Linked DNA regions of Homo sapiens: region 2 is linked to region 1. Evidence: promoter capture Hi-C in 16 types of primary human blood cells and fetal thymus (Javierre and others, 2016). All regions are on one chromosome and are shown on one strand. The core of a region is centred on a gene start or on the middle of the fragment in contact, and the rest is flanking DNA. Distances in the headings are between cores, read along the strand shown. Region 1 holds the start of ABHD10 (abhydrolase domain containing 10, depalmitoylase). Region 2 has its middle 210 kb from the start of CD96.

The links. The method cuts DNA at HindIII sites, captures the fragments that hold promoters and counts their contacts. A CHiCAGO score of 5 or more calls a contact.
Region 2: a contact is called between a fragment that was not itself captured here and the fragment with the promoter of ABHD10 in region 1, in 1 of 17 cell types (fetal thymus). The highest score is 5.1, in fetal thymus.

The regions. Positions count from the first base shown.
Region 1 is chr3:111,977,743-111,980,504 of GRCh38, forward strand. ABHD10 (abhydrolase domain containing 10, depalmitoylase) reads left to right here and starts at 1,284. Exons shown (of 5, transcript NM_018394.4): 1 at 1,284-1,461. The coding sequence starts at 1,320. RefSeq lists enhancers at 926-1,485, 1,344-1,393, 1,404-1,453, 1,474-1,523. The HindIII fragment of the contact is 3,690 bases long and covers 1-2,588 here.
Region 2 is chr3:111,327,890-111,330,790 of GRCh38, forward strand. No RefSeq gene overlaps it. Among named protein-coding and RNA genes, the nearest start is that of CD96, 210 kb to the right of the region's middle. The HindIII fragment of the contact is 1,263 bases long and covers 631-1,893 here.

The DNA of each region.
Region 1 (2,762 bases), core at 34-2,533:
ATAGGAAACTACTACGTAAAACTCCATGGTTGATGCTTGAGGCCCCCAGGAATTAGTTTGAAAGGTATTTAGAGCTGGAGTCCGGAAACCCTTGTACTACAATTTATTCAACTATTTTTCTATTGTTAGCCATTCCCATTTTTTTCCTTCTCTTTGCCTCTAAAAACGGTGTAGTAGATAATATGCAGTCTTAAGAACTAGTGTTGTTTTTCTATAGGATAATCACAAATTGGTGCCACTGCGTTAAAAGGCACTGGAATGGATGCATATTTTAAAATTGTAATAGATGTGGCCATATTACTTCACAACAAATTTTAGTAATTCACCTTCCTAGCAATCATACATAAGTGCTAGTGTCTAGCATCCTTGCCAATTATTTTTCTTTTTTGCCAACTGAATGGGGGGAAAAAGGCATTATTTTTTTAATTCCAGTTTTTCATTTAGTGAGTTTGAGCATCATGTTTCCTTATATGGGCTGCCTATTTATAGCTGTTGGCCAATTTTATTTGAATTATATTTCTTATTTATAGGAGCAGGCTGAGTAGAAGTATTAATGTATCTATGCTACAAAATCCATTTTTCTAAGCTCTTAACTTGAGGTGTCTTTTGCCATTCAAAAAGTTTAAATTCGTATACAAATATATTTTTTATTTATGATGTTGGGGTTTTGAAATCTTGGTTAAGAAAGTCCCTTCTGTCCCCGGATTATATAATATTCTCCTAAAATTTATTTAATCCTCTCAGTTGTATTCTTCCGTTGAAATCTTTTTTTACTGAAATTTATTTTCGCATATAGCACGAGGAGGGGGCCAAGATAATTCAGTATTTCGTTAATCAGGCATATAGATCTAGAGCGGGGAATGTCCGATACCATTCCAGGTTATACAGGCGAGATTAATGTCAGATCTTGGGAGCATTTCCAGTACAGGTTAAAACTGTCACGCGGTCGGCGGGATTGCAGGTGATGCAGCAAGCCTGGTGTCCTCGACAGGAGACGTTTCCCATCTAGGACCGTTGGATAGGGTTCCTTTCTGAGCTTCCAGCTCTGTAGTATCTATCAGCCCGCTGATAGGGCAGCCTCCCGACGCCACTCAAAACATCTTAAAGGCCCCAAGCCAAACCCCGCTACTAGTAGAACCAACAGTCTAAACGAAAGAGCCACGACGCTCTGCGCATGTGCGCTCTTCGCAAGCTGAAAATCTTGCGGGGAGCTCTTTAGCAAGTTCCGCCTTCCAGCCTGAAGCGCATGCGCAGCCTCGGTTCCGTTGCGTAGCGTGTCCCTCAGTGGGACACTGCAGGGTGCGGGGACAACTACGAAGATGGCGGTTGCGCGCTTGGCAGCTGTGGCGGCCTGGGTACCTTGTCGGAGCTGGGGCTGGGCAGCCGTCCCCTTCGGTCCCCACCGTGGCCTCAGCGTGCTGCTTGCACGGATACCTCAGCGGGCGCCACGGTGGCTCCCAGGTCAGTGTCCGAAAGGCGGGAGTAGGATGCGTTCTTTCGAACGCCTCGGGTTCCGTCAGTTACCGTGCCTGTGCAGTGCGTCTTTGGCGCCCGGTTCAAAAATGCTCCTCCCCCTTTCTCAACACCCCAGTTCTAGGCGCTTTGTAGACTTCTGGTGAAGGCTGTGAGGAGAGCTCTGCCGCGGCCCTGCGGCATTCTGGGCACCCCGGGCCCTCGCTGGCGTTTTACACTGTGCAGTTTAAAGAGCTCCTGCTCCTTACCTGCCTCCCCTGCATTAAAGGCCAACACTAGAAAAAATTAAAATGTGCATTTAATGCATTATTATTAGTTACTTCTAGGAATTTGTAGATTGTGACTCCTAAAATGCTTAGACTGACTCTCCTTTGAGTTTAGGGAACCTAACAATGCGAGGCATGTTCTTTGTAAAAGTGTAGACGCCCTCATAAGCCTAATTTCTAGTTCTGCTTTCTTGCTGCACCCACTCAGTGAAAGAACCATAATCATTATTGCACAAAGGAAACTAGAATTTGGGCTAAAAATCAGAGAACCTCTTATATGTATATATAGTCTTTGAATTAGATCCTTTTATTTTTTTGGCTTTGTGTGTGGTTCACACCATTGCCACGTAGCTGTCAGATGATGCATGGTGCTTGGAGTGGTAATTAATGTCACGGCAGAGATCTTTTGTATGGAGATTTTTGTATCCAGTTTTTAAACTTTTATAATCAGATTAACTTGCATTTAATTGTGCGCAACCAAAAGGCATGTTACACATGCAAATACTCCTAGTAAAATGTAGTATGTCAATTCATTAACCAGAGTATAATATTATTTCATCTAGTTAGCACTTATTCATTGAGCACTTATGCACCAGGCTTTGAATTAATCCTTATGTTCAAAGATGATTTATGAATATAATTATATGAATCTGTCTACTTAGAACTTACATTAAATAAATTATAATCATCTCGGGGAAATTATGTTTTAAGAGGTGATTTCTGGAAGAGGATAGTGAGAATTTTTTTTAGTGCTCAGCTGAGTAGATGGGAAATGAACATGAGTGGATCAGCATAACTGGTCCTTACCAAAAGTTTTAAATTTGGCATATTTCTCTATACTTTGAAACAAGCTTTTATGTAAAAAGGATAACTTTAAGGCCTTCAGTTACATCTTTAAAAAATCAACTTCTTAATTACAAAATGGGGAAAACTTTAGCAGCACACATGGATTCTCTTCTCAAGACTGAGAAGTTTTCAAAGTGGAGGACGGCTTCATTTAATATAAAAAAAGAAAATGTATTA
Region 2 (2,901 bases), core at 12-2,511, 650 kb before region 1:
ACTTCAGCCTGGGTGACAGAGCAAGACTCTGTCTTAAAAAAAAAAAAAAAAAACCACTAAATCATACACTAAAAAAAGGTAGATTTTATGCTATTTGAATTCTTTTTCAATTAAAAAAAGTCTACCCATTCTCTAAGTTTTACTGATCTTCCTGAGCATATCTCCCAATCTGATCTGTTTGACTCTTCCTTTGAATATTTATCTTAGGCAGACCACTTTTATGCAACTGCCATGGCCTTCTCATATTTGTGTGACTTTCAAAGGTTTAAATGGGATGTATATTGAGATGGATATTACCACTAGAGACTGGTTGGTTATCCATAAAGAAACTATATAGGTAGCATTATAGTAGAGAAACTGCTGTGGTCCAACCCGTAATTCTAGCCTCACTATTCAAAAATTCTATCTTGTCAGTGTTCCACGTCAATCACATCTAGCTCACAATTCTTAAATGCACAAAAGTATGAACATGAGCCAAGAATGAAATTATGTTAATTTAGAATGAGATCAACTGTCTAGTAAACTGGTCATACTAGTGGATGGTCGTTCTCTGGCTATACAACAAATGCAATAGCAAAAGCCAGAAATTTGCTTGGTAGGCATGTAATCAGAGCGATGCTGTGATTCAAAAGCTTGGTACAAAAGATACTCTAGTCAAAAGCAGCTTCACAGTAGGGCTAAACCAGACAACAGAATTCAATAGTGTTTATCTCTGTGGCTCTCCTTTATCCAAGGATCACCTGATTCTTGTCCATCTTGCTTCTAGTCCAGGAAATATTCTATCTCCATGCTGCCGTTTTACAGACTTCTGATCATTCCTTATTCTCTGATTTCATAATTTGAATCCTAGAAAGAAGCCTTGCAGTAGTCCCAGCCAATGCTTGTTTTTTTCCCTCCTTGAGATTGTAAATTCCATAAGACAAAGACTGACTAGAGATTTGTATCTCTTGCAGTACCTACCATAGATCTGAGTGTTATAAGTATGATTAAAATGAACTGAATCTTGAGGAAATGTGCTATCTTCAAAACACATTTATTGGTAACTTTCTTTTCCTTCATGATATTGTGTATGACAATAGCAGAAATTTAAAATTCTGTCAATGTGGCTAATGTCAATTTCCTGCATTATATTGCTTCTCTATATTGAATAGATTTATTCTGAGGAATCCATGCCTTGTTTTATGTGAAGTCACTCAAGTAATTTTAACTCAAAAATAGCTATTACAAGTGCACTATCTTCTATTTCAGTGATTCTCAAACTTAGCTGTGAATCAGAATCACTGGGAGGGCTTGCTAAAACATAGATTGCTGATCCCCACCCCAGAACTTCTGATTAAGTAGGTCTGGGTTAGGGACCCAGAATTTGCATTTGTAACAGTCTTGTCCTCAGGTGGTGCTGATGCTGCTGGTTAAGAACTAAGTATGCTTGGAGAACCATTGCTCTCCTTCATCCCTCTTGGTCTTCAATGTTTGAATTGAAGCCTCAAAGTGTGGTCTGTGGGCCCAAAAACCTTCAGTACCCAAGAATTTATTAGAAGTCAAAGAGTTCGGGCCCCACTCGTGACCTCTGAGTCAGAATCTGGATTGTAACAAGATCGCTCAGGTGATGTGTATGCAAGTCATTAAAATTAGAGAAGCATTGACTTAGAGCACCAAGAGAGGTCACTTGCAAGCAGGCTAGAGAGGTGTCAAGTGAACAATGATCTAATTAAAAGTAACAGGAACCTGCAAGTGTGCTACATTGTGCATATTTAAGACTAAGCTGAGAGCAAAGAAAACAATGTGACTAAATCAGTCAGGGTCTTGGCAGGACACAGATGGGACTGAGTACTCAAAGAGGGAATTAAAGAGACTTTATTAAAGACATTATGTTAAAAGATATGGGCAGGATCAAGCTTACCTATAATAGATGATAAAACACTTATTAATATCAGCAAGAAGCTCTTACCACCAGTAGGCCTAAATGGCAAGGAGATCTGAAGGGAAGTGGAAGGCAGAAAAACACCCAGACTTCTTCTTCTTCTCATCCTTTAGTATCCTCATGCCTTCCACTGGCCAAATCCACCTAGAAGGCCAAGGGCACCCCAACCTAGCTAATACAGCCTCTAGAAGTCAGCCTCCTAGGGGCACAGAGAAGAATGCAGCAGGGTGGAGAGCTCTCCCTTAAAAGAGTCATTTATTGTCCAGGTACCAGTCAGAGTAGGTCAGATTGAAAGTTATACCCTTATTTTTTTAATATCCAAATAAAAGTATATGGGGGAAATGTTAATAATGTTGATATAGAATCAAAAAAATTAATAATGTTGATAGAGAAAATCCAAATATTCCTTCTTCACCTGCAACTGAGAAAATCCTAATGTCTGCCACCAAAGGAGAAAGCCTACAAGGTGGCATGTAATAATAACTTAGATACCGGTCAGTGAGTCAGCTGGCCATTCTTGCTGACCAAGATTGTCTGTAGAGCTCATATTGTAAATGAGGAATGGAAAAGTGAATAGGTAGCTGATCATCTCAGTGACTACAGGAACTGTGCAAAGGCTGGGTAAGCTTTGTTGGGATGAGCATGATGATAGAAGGTTCAAGCCAGGTCTCATGTGGAAACAAGAGTGAATGGGCAATTATTCTCTGGAGTGATTTTAAAATGTCTTAGGGTGAATTCTCTTGAAGGATGACACTCTGTGTATTGCTTATCCTAGGTCATAGCTTCCCATGTTATCATGAGTGCATATAAATTTCCCAGGGATCGTGTTAAAATACAGATTCTCCTTTAGTAAGTCTGGGCTAGGCCCTGAGATTTTGCAACTCTAACAAGCTCCTATGCGATACTAATGTTGTTGACCTTAGGAATACACTTTGAGTAGCAAGGTCCTAAGGCACAGAAAATCAAGAACAATCTTGATT